4 separate regions of the Homo sapiens genome follow, and regions 2, 3 and 4 are each linked to region 1. Evidence: promoter capture Hi-C in 16 types of primary human blood cells and fetal thymus (Javierre and others, 2016). All regions are on one chromosome and are shown on one strand. Each heading gives the region's core, a stretch centred on a gene start or on the middle of the fragment in contact. The rest is flanking DNA. Distances are from core to core; before and after follow the strand shown.

Evidence for each region. The method cuts DNA at HindIII sites, captures the fragments that hold promoters and counts their contacts. A CHiCAGO score of 5 or more calls a contact.
Region 2: a fragment that was not itself captured here is called in contact with the fragment with the promoter of SLC44A3 in region 1 in 1 of 17 cell types (neutrophils); the score reaches 5.5 in neutrophils.
Region 3: a contact is called between a fragment that was not itself captured here and the fragment with the promoter of SLC44A3 in region 1, in 2 of 17 cell types (neutrophils and monocytes). The highest score is 6.9, in neutrophils.
Region 4: a fragment that was not itself captured here is called in contact with the fragment with the promoter of SLC44A3 in region 1 in 2 of 17 cell types (endothelial precursors and erythroblasts); the score reaches 7.5 in endothelial precursors.

Annotation. Positions count from the first base shown.
Region 1 is chr1:94,818,087-94,821,623 of GRCh38, forward strand. SLC44A3 (solute carrier family 44 member 3) reads left to right here and starts at 2,271. Exons shown (of 15, transcript NM_001114106.3): 1 at 2,271-2,392; 2 at 2,863-2,970. The coding sequence starts at 2,366. SLC44A3-AS1 (SLC44A3 antisense RNA 1) reads right to left here and starts at 2,146. Exons shown (of 6, transcript NR_160780.1): 1 at 1,870-2,146. RefSeq lists a silencer at 2,275-2,464. The HindIII fragment of the contact is 9,215 bases long and covers 1-3,317 here.
Region 2 is chr1:94,602,980-94,606,406 of GRCh38, forward strand. The region is part of intron 1 of LOC105378861 (a long non-coding RNA gene); the gene reads left to right. Among named protein-coding and RNA genes, the nearest start is that of MIR12133, 61 kb to the left of the region's middle. RefSeq lists an enhancer at 2,416-3,427. The HindIII fragment of the contact is 2,431 bases long and covers 894-3,324 here.
Region 3 is chr1:94,586,448-94,589,780 of GRCh38, forward strand. All of the region lies in intron 1 of LOC105378861 (a long non-coding RNA gene), which reads left to right. Among named protein-coding and RNA genes, the nearest start is that of MIR12133, 44 kb to the left of the region's middle. The HindIII fragment of the contact is 3,067 bases long and covers 1-3,021 here.
Region 4 is chr1:95,034,828-95,038,368 of GRCh38, forward strand. All of the region lies in intron 2 of ALG14 (ALG14 UDP-N-acetylglucosaminyltransferase subunit), which reads right to left. Among named protein-coding and RNA genes, the nearest start is that of ALG14-AS1, 25 kb to the right of the region's middle. The HindIII fragment of the contact is 291 bases long and covers 1,902-2,192 here.

The DNA.
Region 1 (3,537 bases), core at 1,021-3,520:
TGATATTGTCTATAATTTTAGGTCTGAATCATTATAAATACACTGTTCTTTGTTTTTAGACTTTTGAAAAGAGTTTTTGTAAGTCAGGTTTAATGAAATACAGTTTACATACAATAAAATTCACCTTTTCTAGTGTACAGTTCTACAAATTTTGACAAACAGATACCACTGGGTCATCAGTACCATTCTCAAGATAATGGAATATTTCCATCACTTCAGAAAGTTTCTCCAGATTCCCTTCACCCCCAGCACCTGACAACCATTGATCTATTTTCTGCCTTTTCCAGAATGTCACATAAATGGAATCATAGAGTAGCTTATTATATCTGACTTTTTTTCACTTAACATGCATTTGAGATCATCCATGTTTTTGCATATGTAAGAAGTCTGTTCCTTCTTAATGCTTAGTTGTATTTCATCGTATAGATGCATCACAGTTATGTATAGCCACCCACCAGTTCCTGGACACTTGGGTGGTTCCTGGTCTTTTTTCTAACACAACAATAAATTCAGCCTAAATATTTGGCCACTCTCATGCTATATCTATTGTATCATCTCCTGAATTTGTTTCTCTTCTTGCTTGATTATGTCCTCCAAGAATGTCATTCAAATGAATCTTTCATAAGAATATTTTTATTATTAATACATTCTCACATTCTAATGACAATATGGCTTAATAGAAAATAAGTTCAAAGTTATGCTTTTAAATACTTACATATAGAAACATTTTGCTTGAGATAAACCTTTTCAATCTGAAGGTTTTTTTCTACCTTGAAATTTATCTCCATTATATCTTCAAATATTTCCCCTTCTCTGTTTTTATATTTCTTCCTTTCTGTTCTAGTTTTACCCTAGATATAAGCTAGAAAATTTACAAATAAGCTAACTTGTTTTTTAAAACATTTTCTACTGCCTCTGGAGGTTTGCTGAAAGTGCTCTTCCAATTACTAATTCATCGTCAGCTGCATCTTTTAGACTATTGCACATTACTAATACGTAGCATCAATATTCATTCTAATTATTATTTTTATGCTTAATATGTTTTAGTTTCATATTTTTTCCTGATTCATATTGCTAATATCATAACTCATTTTAAATAAATTTATCATGCTTATTTAAAAATCTTGGTCCATCTGCTCTACTGATCAGTTTCAGATGGCATATGTTATTCAGTTGTGGTCTTTTAACAGTAGTTGCACTCCTCCAGTGTCTAATTCTTTGTCCTATGAATTCATGTTCCCCTGGGGTTTCACCTACTCTGTCTGATAAACATGCATCCAGGAAGGCCCAGTGAGTTTGCAGTGGGAGGGTGGTGTGAGCCCAGAAGGAAATCGCTGGCACCAGAGAACCACTGTCTATCATTCCCAGTTTCTCCCACTTACCCAGATCTTTCCTCCAGTCAGGTTTCTACCCTTAGGGAGAAGCAGCACCTAAAGGAAGCAATTAACCTAGCAACCCTAAGGGTGGCAGGGGGAAGGGTAGAGGCTTGATTGAGAGGAGGTGGGGGGAGGTCGGCCTGCAGTTTTTTTTGTTTTTCGTTTTTTAAATTCCTCACCCCAACAGTGCTTTTGCGCTGGTCTGACACTACCTGGAAAACTATGCCACCAGTCGCTTCAGTGGACACTACCATTTCAATTGCGAAGTCAGGCAATGATTGTCCTAAGGCAAGGTGGGAGAGAAGTCAGAGTAAACCACCTCGAGAGCGCCGGTCTCCCGGAGTGTCTGGGTTCGACTCCTGCCTCCACAACTTACTGGGTCTCCTCGAACAAGTTGCATCACCAATGGCCGTGCCTCAGTTTCCCTCCTCCGTAGATTAGGAATAACAATAGCAGTGAGAACAGAATCCAGCACACAGTAAATGCTGCTTACCTGTTTGCTATGTGGAATACGCCACTACACTGTTGCTCGGCCCTCAGGAAGGGTCTGCTGAGACTTTCTACTTCCTGCTCAGGGCAGAGGCCGACCACCCGCCCAAGGTCGTGGCGGCGCCGGCTCAGCTTTAGTCGTCAAAGTGCACATCCTGGGAGCCGCTGCCTCGAGGTGGTTGAGGCGAGAGGGCAGGGAAGCGTCTGAGCCTCTTCCTCCCACCAGAGCAGGACCCCAGCTGACAGCGGGTGAGCTGGGCAGAAACCCATGCCGGGAAGAGGCGGACCCAGTGGACCGCAGCGCCCGCAGTCGCCGGGCCAGGCGCAGAGGCGAACGGGAGGCGGCGCTGCACCGTGCCCGCCCCTCCCCGGCCCGGCCCCGGCTCCAGCCCCAGCCCCAGCCCCAGCCCCGGCCCCGGCCCCGGCTCGCGGGCGCTGCGTCTCCGCGTACAGGAGGCGGCGGCGGCTCCCAGTCACCGGCCCCCGCCGGCGAGCGCACGATGCACTGCCTGGGCGCCGAGTACCTGGTAAGCGCTCGCAGCCTCGGCCCTCGGGGGAGGAGCCCCGGGGAAGGGTCGAGTCCCCCGCCTTCACGCACCTTCCCTGCCGGACGCTTCCGCCTTTCCCGCGCCTCGGGGATCCCGCCCCCGCTTAGTACCTTGGGGCCACCTGGCGGGGAGGAACCTGGACCCTGCTCCAGTGCTGGGGCGGAGGCGGGGGAGACGCGGGCCGCGGGGCGCAAACTTGGGGTCGTCCTCAGGTGCACCTCCAGGTAAGCACTTGGCGGCAGGGGGCTTAACATCCGCTCCGCGCAGAGCAGGTGTTTCAAAGGCTGTGTGAAAGAGCTTCAGGTGGCCACGTAAAAAAATAATATTAATTTTAAAAATTTAGAAAAAGATTGGTTACTTTGGCCCCTCTTCGAGTAGATTTGGGTTCGGTTTCCAGGTTGAGTCCACCTGTTTATCTTCTTTTTCTCAACTCTCCCTTTTTCTGGAAGGTTTCTGCAGAAGGAGCCCCTAGGCAAAGGGAGTGGCGACCCCAGATTTATAGGAAATGCACAGATACGGCATGGTTATTCCTGTTCTTTCTCTTTTGGACTGGTTTGGTAAGTGTGGGTGCTTGGTAGGAAAGAGGCCAGAGTGTGTGTGCACGTCTGGAAATAACTCTGTCCCAAATGTAAATCGTAGTTGGTGCTGCAGTGAGAGACTTCTGCCGTTAACCCACAATAAACATCAGTTTGTACTCGGGAGAATTCTTGTCCTAGACTCGCTAGAAAGGCTGTCTTTTTGCTACAGGCCATGTTCTAAGGGGTGACTCCATTAGGAAATGGGAATTAACAGTTTGCAATGTGATTGCTATTTAGTAAGGCCAATGTGTCTCCTTTTACTCTCCGAACTTACTGAACAGAAGTTCTTTTAGCACCTGCCACACCCCCAAATCAAATATTCCTCAAGCTTTTGGTGCACCTTTAACAAAGGAAAAGCCAGGGTAAGCCTAGAAATAAACTGCATTTCCTTTAGCTGAACATCACACACACACGCGCGCGAGAGATATGTTGTGTTTAGCAGCCAACACTGTTAACCATAGCTAACAAGGAATGATTTTTCCCACTCTAATTTCGAGGTATGTATGATTGCTGGTAAACTCCATCAGGCTATGCGGTTATAATCCT
Region 2 (3,427 bases), core at 859-3,358, 220 kb before region 1:
GGATTTTTAAAAGCTGGATTGGGGGAGCAGTGGATGGTAGAATGAATCCTTTATCTTGAAGATATAGCAAAAGTAAATACAAATTATACAGCTTGTAAGATTAATGCTTTTGAATCATAAAAAATAAACACAAAATTCTTGTGGCTTAGTTGCATAAAGATAAGCAATTCAAAGTCCATATCTTTAATGATAGCCTTTTTTCTGTCGTAAGTAAAGACTGCATCAAGGAATTAATGCAAACACATTTCTGCCTACCATCCTTATATTTCTCCTTTCTTGCTAAAATTACCTACTTCACAGGATGTGAGAATTAAATGAGATATGTGTCACTTTGTTTAGCACCAAAGAAACACTAAATAAGTATTGTCAAGTTGAAATCTGAATAGTGCTTTTCTTCTTCTCCCTGTCTTCCTTCTCCTTTTCCCATCCTCACCTGCTTTCTTGGTGCTTACTGAGAACTGACTGTGTCCCCTGGACTGGGGCAGAGGTGGCCCTGCTCTCCAGGAGCTTTGCTTATTCACTTACTCAACCAGTATTTATTGAACTCCAACTTGTACCAGTCTGTCTTCCAGCCCTGAAGACTCAGTGTTGAGGATGAAAAAGTCCCTGTTTACATCCAAGGGTTAATACACCAATACATTAATCAATCCATAGTATAACCTTGAGTACTATTAAGCGCTACAAAGAAAGACAAAGAAGGCTAAAGGGATGGAGAATGGTGGAAGTGAGTTGGAGGCTATTTTACATGGATACATCAAGAAAGCCTCTCTGGAGAAAGTGGCATTTGGGCAGAGTCCTGAATGAGGTGAGGAGGTGGCCCATGAGAGGATCCAGGCAGAGGATGAGGCAGGGGCACAGGAAACAGCATGTGCAAAGGCCCTGAGGTGAGCACAAGCTTGGCATGGTCTCAGGAAAACAAAAAGATCAGAAGGGTATGGTCTCAGGAAAACAAAAATATAGTGAGCTGGGAGAAGGTTGTCACACAGGAGCCTGGAGGCATGGGGTGAGGAGAAGATCACATAGGGCCTCATGGGGCATGCTATGAAGTTTGTTCAGATTGTATTCCAGGATTGATGGGAAGCTATTGGAGAGTTTTGAGTCCTTATATTGTTTATGTGCTTTAAAAGGATCACTTTAGCCACTGGAGAATACAGAAGAGCAAGAGCAGAGGCCCCAACCAGGGGGCTAGTATAGGGACGGAGAGGCAGTATAACACAGTGGGGAAGCCTCCAGGGCCAGACTGCCAGGGTTTGAAGCATGTCTGCCATTGATGAGCAGCATGAGCATGGACAAGTTAAATAACTCACCTGCACTTCACTTCTCTCATCTATAAAATGGAGATGTAATAGGGTTACCACATTGTACAACTCCAGAATCTCCCCCTGGAGTCCGACGAGTGCAGCGTGCACAGTGCCACTCAGAGCTGTGCAATGCAGCGGTCTCCATCATGAGTCCTACCTTGTTGTGTTACCATGAAGATTAAGGCATAACACACATGTAAAGTGTGTAGAACAATGCCTGGTACCCAAGAATATCTCAAAAATATCTGTTATTATTCGTAGCTGAGGTGAGAGATGATGGTAAGTGGATTAAAGTCGTTACAGTGGGGGTGTTGAAAAGTGATAAAATTTGAAATGAAATTTGAAGAAAGAGCTTGTGCTGGTTCCCAGGGCACAACCACTAATGATGATGGAATTCAGAAGCACATCCTTGCCAGGACTTCTAGGTGGGTTTCTTAGTATGATTCTATTTTGGAGCTGAATTTCTCAGAATCTTCCCCACCAGGATGTTTTCCACCTAAAACAATGAGTGGATGTAGTACATATTTTATAGAGTGATTATGAGATTTAAACAGGATCTTGCATGTAAATACCCTAACTTAGTGCCTAGTACATTGTAAGTTTCAATGACCGTTAGCTATCATCGTCATCATCATCTGAGCAGCTCAATGTTTCTGCTTAATGCAGGCACATACCTACAACTCCACAGAAGAGAGATAGCAGCAGTTTTCCCCTCTTGTGAGGAGAGCTAAAGAGAACAGAAGCATTTGGGAATTAAGGTCCTGAGGCCATAGTGTCCCTAAAGGAGGCCTGTTGTTGTGCCCTCAGACACCCTCCATGGCCCTCAAAAGGCCTGGATAAGAACCAGCCCAACCAGGAAGAGAAGCACCGGAACCTAAATAAAGACATAGGATTCAAAAGGCATGATTCACCTTTATTTCATTGGGTTTACCACTTACAGAGCCCAAGTCAACCATGTAAAGCTATGAAATTTATGTTCTATTCCTTTTCCTGACCCGCTTGGCCCTAATGAACCTCAAACACAAATACTGGAGGTGGCAAGGGGACCTCGGCAGGCCCAAGAGCTGCAGATACCCAACTCCTCCCAGGCCCTCCTCAACACCACCCCGCTCTGCTCTGCCCCACTGATGCCAGGTCCTGGTATCATTGCTGTCTGACTACTCACACACCATGAGGTAGCGTCCCTGCTTTTTTTTTTTTTTTTTTCCTGAGACAGAGTCTCGCTCTGTCACCCAGGCTGGAGTGCAGTGGCGCGATCTCGGCTCACTGCAAGCTCCGCCTCCTGGGTTCATGCTATTCTCCTGCCTCAGCCTCCCGAGTAGCTGGGACTACAGGTGCCCACCACCACACTCGGCTAATTTTTTTTGTATTTTTAGCAGAGACAGGGTTTCTCATGTTAGCCAGGATGGTCTTGATCTCCTGACCTCGTGATCCACCCGCCTCGGCCTCCCAAAGTGCTGGGATTACAGGCGTGAGCCACCGAGCCCGGCCGGCAACCCTGTTTTATTTGTTCTTGGATGTATGAACCATATAATTCCTTCTTCAAAAGTCATAAAGGCGAGACTCCAGCCAACAATTCCACATAAAAAGAGAGCGCCATTTTCTCGCTCTCAGGCTTGGTAATGATTCCTGCTGTGAGGCAGTCATTACGGAAATGACTCAGTCTTTCTCTCCTGTGTTAATAAGATTTTACTGTCTTTGGTCCTGACTCAAACTGGCTGAGAGCAATGTGGGGATCACAGAAGCTGTACCAGAGTGTGTCACTATGTAACTTTTCTTAACTTACCAAAATACCATGTGGATAGGAGCCATTCCAGCCCATCGCCTTGCTTCCGAGTTGGCTGTAGTCTTAGCCGGGTTCACACAATGGGCATCTGCTAATCTCTTTCCTTACCTGCCAGGAAGTTGAGGCCAAAGTTCTGTTTTCTCTCTAAAGGCTAATCAAGCTGTAAAGACGGTTAGTGGGCTGAGCTCAAAATAAGGCACCTGAGCTCTCTTTGCATCTCTAACATCCACAACACTAAGCTTCTTCCTGGGGTCCCAGTGTGATAACTGACCCAGGCCCAGATGGCAAACGAAAGCTATTAGGGTGACTGTGGAAACTTCTGTGTCTTCTTCTTGGTTGA
Region 3 (3,333 bases), core at 238-2,737, 230 kb before region 1:
AGAATTTGGGGTTGAGAAGTGGCTGGATATCCATATTTGTTGAGATAGTAAAGATTGAAGTCACAATAATGAGAATGAATTAGGCATCCGGGGATAATGAGGCATCTCAGCTGCTCTGAGATATTCACAGGGATTTTTGAGAGACCAGAGAGCTTCTCTGAAGTTTATACACCTGTTCAACTTCCTGTGTGTATTTCTTGAAGATCATTTATGCTCCAGATGCAAGATTCTCTCTTATTTTTCTGGAACTCCAGATCTCACCCTCCTTGTAACAGTTAGTGCTCTCGCAAGCATAACTCTAAAGTTTTCCTGAGGCTGGGGAATAAAAGCAAAACAGAATAAAGTTAGAGGCCTGAACAAATGAAATGGTCCTTCTATTTTCTTTCCGTATGTCAGCATAAAAATCCCCTGTGTGTCTCTTTCAAATATGTGATTATTTTTTAAAAACTTCCAACTCCAGACAATAAATTTTGGTTCTCTGTACTTGGACCAAATGCCTAATAGAATGGGTAAGTTTGGGGAATAATCACCACAGTGGAATACATTATAACAATTAGAATGAACAGCCTGCTACGAATGCAACAATACCAGTGACTCTCATAAGCAGAATGTTGAGTGGAAGAAGCGAGACATAAAAGTTTGCACACTATGTGATTTATTTTATGTGAAATATAGAAACAGGAAAACTAACTGGGATAGGGATTGTCCTTTGTGGGAGGAGATATCAGTGTGTCTTCTGGGGTGTTCGTGACATTGTTTTTTGTTCTAAGTGCTGGTTACACAGTTGTGTTCTTTGCAAAAATTCCTTAGATTGTACACTAATCATACATATCCTTTCTGTATGTTTCATTTCATTAAAAAAACTTTTTAAAAAATGATTTACGAAAGCAGCTGACCCTCAAGCCATTGGCCAAAACCTTTTCTGATTTCAGTCTGCTATCCCTCACTTATCTTTGGCGCTTTCTGTATTTTCTAATTTACCTTGGAAGAAAATCCTTTAAGACTTTTCAAAGTTTTCCATGATGGCATCCCTAGTAAACATAATCAAGCATTTATGATTTTGGGTGGCATAACGATTTCCAGATTTCTCTATCAGGGATTTTGTACACTGTTGTCTAACATGTTATAAACTTCTCAGGGTGTTCTTGTTGGGGTCATTTGAGCTGTCAGCTAAATTATTCCTTTTGTTTGCAAAGATTTCAGGAAAACACATGTTCTTTTATGGCAAGATTGCTGTGGTGATTACCAGCTGGCATGGGTTTTGTGTATTTTATTTAGTGATTTCTTACAGTCACCTGATGATAGAGGGAAACTGGAATAGCTCAGATGCAAGGATGATGGAACACAGATTACAAAAAGACATTTTTTTCTGAGTGTTACTAATGTTTTCAATTTATTCATTAATAAAAAGTGCACAGTATAAGCCTTTTATCCCAATCCAAGTACTCAGTGAAAGATTAACAATAAACACTGGATGGCACAGACATGATTTGTTTGGCATGATTTAAACATATGAAAACAGCAATTAACATTTAATATACCACATGACTACTTTTGCTTTTAACAAAGTAATCATCATATGTGGTAACAAATACATATGATTTTTCATTTAGAAATATTATAAGAAAACCACACTTAATATTGCAACAACAAAAATTTAACCCATTAACTACAAACTCTCTTCATTTTTCCTCCTTCAAGTTGCTGTTTTGTGTCTTAAACTGAGCCAGTCATATTTGAGCACATATTTATTTAGAGTGATAGACTCATTTAGAGTGACAGACTTCCAAGTTTCCCTTGAAAATATAAGATATTGTTAATTATATAAACACTATCACATCACATACCACAAAGACACTAAAAGTACCCATAAAATGGCTATATCCAGTAATTATTTTGGAAAGTCTGTCCAAGCTGTAAAATATGACTTACTGACTATGGGATAGTGCTTGGATAGATAATAAGATAAGCTCAGAAATGCTAGCAGTTTTCAAAGTGTTCCATTTGTTCTTTATTTTTATATGATTTGTTGGTAGAGTTTTCCCAAATATAATTAATAAGCAAGAAAGGAGAGCAGTTAAATTAATTAATTCACCTTTATATTTGTTTAATAGAAGAACCAAAATTTGGTTTTTAAAAAGGTGTTTTATGCCAGTAATGATGTGGAAATCTGCAGGTATCTTAAGCTCATCAGAGGGAATATCTTAAGACAATTTTAAAATGCTTGGGTCCTGAAAAGAAATGTCAAACGTAGTGCAATCATAGCTCACTGCAGCCTTGAACTCTTGGGCTCAAGCAAGCCTCCTGCCTCAGCCTCTGGAACAACTAAGACTACAGGCATGTGCTACTACACTGGGATAATTATTTTTTAATTTAATTTAATTTTGTAGAGATGGGGGTCTCACTATCTTGCCAAGCTGGTCTCGAACTCCTGGCCTCAAGCAATCCTCCCACATAAGCCTCCCAAACTGCTGGGATAACAGGCTTGAGTCACTGTGCCAGGCCCTGACTATTATTTTTTAAACACTAAGTTTAAAAGTTTTCACTGATTATTTAAAATAATAAAAAGTAACAAAGAGGCCAGGTGTGGTGGCTCATGCCTGTAATCCCAGCACTTTGGGAGGCTGAGATGGACGGATCACCTGAGGGGTCAGGAATTCACGACCACCCTGGCCAACGTGGTGAAACTGTCTCTACTAAAAATACAAAAATTAGCTAGGCATGGTGGCTGGCACCTGTAATCCCAGCTACTCGGGAGGCTGAGGTAGGATAATTGCTTGAACACAGGAGGTGGAGGTTGCAGTGAGCCGAGATCATGCCACTGCACTCCAGCCTGGGCAACAGAGCAAGACTCTGTCTCAAAAAACAAAACAAAACAAAACAAAACAGGAACAAAGAATAATAAAATAGGTAGGAATTATCCCGAAATGGAAGGCCGTTCAGTTTCAAACAAGTTGACTTTTCAAGGCAACTAGTTAATTAGTTTTCCCCCAGCAAAGAATCACCTTCCTCTCTCAGGCAAGCTTGAACCTGACAACACTGCTTTCATCCCATGCAGGATGGTCACTGCCGTTTCTGGAACTCTCAGTCCCCCATCAGTGATGGTCTATTACAAAGATCTTTCTCTTCTCCTAGGAAGCACAAAGATCCTCTTTCCTGGGTCGGGCTGAGGTTCTTGAGGGCATAACTGTTACAAGGAGGCTGAGACTTAAAGTCCCCAAATGTGATTTTTCTGCTAGAACAAACTATCATAGTCAAACCTCCCTTTTTTCAGGAACAGATGAAATAATCTGAGGAAGGTGCATGGCCTGTGTGAGTGGGAAGAGCAGTGAG
Region 4 (3,541 bases), core at 797-3,296, 220 kb after region 1:
AATCACCCACTCTCAAACCCATAGAGTTTGTTGTCTCTTTCCCTGCCTCTACAGGAACTAAGCTCCCTGCCTCCTCCTCTCTCTTTGCCCTCTGTGCCCTGTTTTGCACTGTAGGCTTGGGTTACCAAACCCACCTACCACTGTTACCAGTGACCGCCCGCCACCTACCCCGACACATTCCCTAAGCCTTTTAGGGGAAAAATCAAAATAAGAACACAACAGGACCTCAGAAATTTTGAGACTTTTCTGTTGAACTTTAGGCCTCAAGGCCCTTATGGCAAGTTCTGCTGTCCTGCTATTGCTCCTACCTGGCAGTCAGCTGGGTTATATGTTCCTAGAAAGGATGTTTTTGTTTTGTTTTGTTTTGTTTTCTCTCTTTCTTCTCTGTCTCTTTCTCTCTTCTTTCTTTCTTTGTAGTTCAATGTGTATATCCTGCAAAATTTACCTGTCTTCAATATAATCCAGTCTCTTTCACACTATTGGCCAAAGAAGTAAGACTCTTTCTTATTCTCTATCGTATAGAAGAAAACATATTTTAGTGAAACAGTGAAACAACCTTTCCATCTCAGCTTCCTAATTCCTGTAGAACAGGGCCATGTCCCATAGTACTCTGTATGCCCACAAGGCCTCCCAACGCTCCCTATATGAACTTGACTGATGTATAATCAAATATATGGTGGCAAGAGAGACAAGAAAAGTAGGATGCTGAAGAGTGAAAAAACAGAGAAATGGATTTTGTTCAGGCTTCTAGTGTCTGATAGTATATGAAACACTGAGTTAAATACTAACAGTATATGACAACTTGTAACTTTCAAAGTATGTTCCAGAATTACATCACTGTTAAAAACCACAAACATATCTGGCTTTAGATTTGTGAAAACTAAATAGGAGTTTATAGTGATTTAGATGGAAATAATTCCACCAAAGAATCCAGATGGCATCATAAACCACAACAGAGGAGATCAAGTGGTTGATGAAGTCATTCTTTGCTGTTACCACACACTGAAACATACAATACCTTTATTATTTAGTGAATGCCACACGACTGAAAAGTCCTGGAAACAAGACAAAGTTAAAATGGTAAAATTTCATTCAACCAAAAATGGTTTCAGCTTTCTTTCATAACTATTTAAAAATAATGCAATGTATATTTTTAAATGTATGTTGGATGGTTCAACTAATCATTATGAAATCAAGATGACCATAATTTACCACAAAATTTTTTTTTATATGTCCTTCAAGTACTTGGTAGATACTTTATGGTGCTGATGAAATGCCATGAAGTGTCATATAAGTGAGGGTGCTGTGGGCCCCTGATATAGTTTGGTTGTGTCCCCACCCAAGTCTCATCTTGAATTGTAGTTCCCATAACCCCCATGGGAAGGACCAAGTGGAGATAATTGAATCATGGGGGCAGTTCCCCTGTGATAGTGCGTTAGTTCTCATGAGTTCTGATGGTTTTATAAGGGGCTTCCCCCTTTGCTGGGCACTTATTCTCCCTCCTGTCACCCTGTGAAGAGGTGCCTTCCACCATGATTCCAAGTTTCCTGAGGCCTCCCCAGCCATGTGGAACTGTGAGTCAATTAAACCTCTTTTTTTTTTTTTTTTTTTTTTTTTGAGATGGAGTCTCACTCTGTTGCCCAGGTTGGGGTGCAGTGGTGCGATCTCGGCTCACTGCAACCTCCACAACCCAAATTCAAGCAATTCTCCAGCCTCAGCCTCTCAAGTAGTTGGGATTACAGGTATGCGCCACCATACCCGGCTAATTTTTGTAGTTTTAGTAGAGACGGGGTTTCACCATGTTGGCCAGGATGGTCTCAAACTCCTGATTTCAGGTGATCCGCCCACCTCGACCTCCCAAAGTGCTGGGATTAAGGGCGTGAGCCACCGCGCCTGGCCCAAGCTTCTTTTCTTTATAAATTACCCAGTCTCGGGCAGTTCTTTATAGCAGCATGAGAACAGACTAATACAGTCCCATGATGGGTCCTGCTGATAACCACTTACTTTGCATGAATCAAGCTCTCTGGACCTCAGTGTCCCACTGTGAAGCAAGGAGGGCTAGCTGAGATCAGGGATCCTTAACTAGCCACCATGATCCCACAGCTGGCTCAAGACTGGCTTGTCAAAGAGAAATGAGGCTGCACTCCAGCTCTGCCCCAGGGCCTGAAACCACCCCTCACTTTACCTCCAGAAGCTTCTCCTTGCCTGGTGGTCTGAGACTTCAGGGAAAAACAAAGTAGTTTGTTTCTGAAAAAATTATGGGATTCTGGCTCAAAAGATTTTTAAAGCCTTTTATAAATGCACATTTATTCTCTCTCAGCCTTTATTGACTCCTTCTTTTGACAATATCGCAATTTTCCTTTGGGTAACTCATTCCTCTCATATTCTCAGCCGGACGGTTTGGTGGTATTTGCCTCCTGTCCCCTTCACCCCTAACCCTGCCTCTAAGAGTAGGCCTGGAATGGCTGAAGCAACATGGAGGAATCATTCCTGGCTACAATGATTAGCTGAAAGATGGGAGTATAACCCCACTGGAGTACCATGAGGCAGGAGATGTTTGCTGGGGCTCTCTCTCCCATATGCTGTAAGAGATCCTCTTCTTCCTCATGAAGAGGAAGAGACATGAGGCCAGGAGGTGCTACAGGTTTTTGTTACCCTAATGAGAGAGCTTGGAGCTGCTGGAGGCAGCACTGTGGGAAGCCCGGTGGAGCTGCCACTGCAGAAGACAGAGCAGAGAGACAACTCTTGCTATAGGGATATGCCTGGGCAACCGGACCAAGCCTCGCCAGAAATAAGACTGAATTTTTCCTGTTTTGTAAGTTGACAAATTCCCTTTATTGTTCAAGCCAATTTTAAGCGTAGGTTTATGTCACTTGAAGTTGAAGCACCCTTCCTTTGTCCTTAAAATGGTAAGAAAATTGCATTCCTTTTCTTAAAATAAAATATATATATTAAAATCATGTATGAAACAATTGTTTACGACATTGAATTTCAGAGCTGTACTCTCTAAGCATGGATTCATTCACTTGTTTCTTCATTAAACTTTCAACAAGCACCTGCCAGGTGACAGGAACTGGGCTAGGGAAACAGAGGTGAATAAGACATTCACAAGGAACTCACTGCAGTCTATCAGGACAGCACAGGAAAAGTGATAATTGCAGTCAAAGGGATAACTATAATATGAGACAATTATTAAATATAATGTTAGCACCAAGTAAGAAGTAATAAACTGGACCAGGTGCGGTGGTTCACACCTGTAATCCCAGCACTTTGGGAGGCCAAGATACGTGGATTGCCTGAAGGTCAAGAGTTTGAAACCTGCTTGGCCAACATGGTGAAACCCTGTCTCTACTAAAAATACAAAAAATTGGCCACGCGCGGTGGCTTACGCCTGTAATGCCTGTAATCCCAGCACTTTGGGAGGCCGAGGTGTTTGGATCACCTGAGGTCAGGAGTTTTGAGACCATCCTGGCCAACATAGTAAAACCTTGTCTCTACTAAAAATACAAAAATTAGCTGGGTATGGTAGCACGTGCCTGTA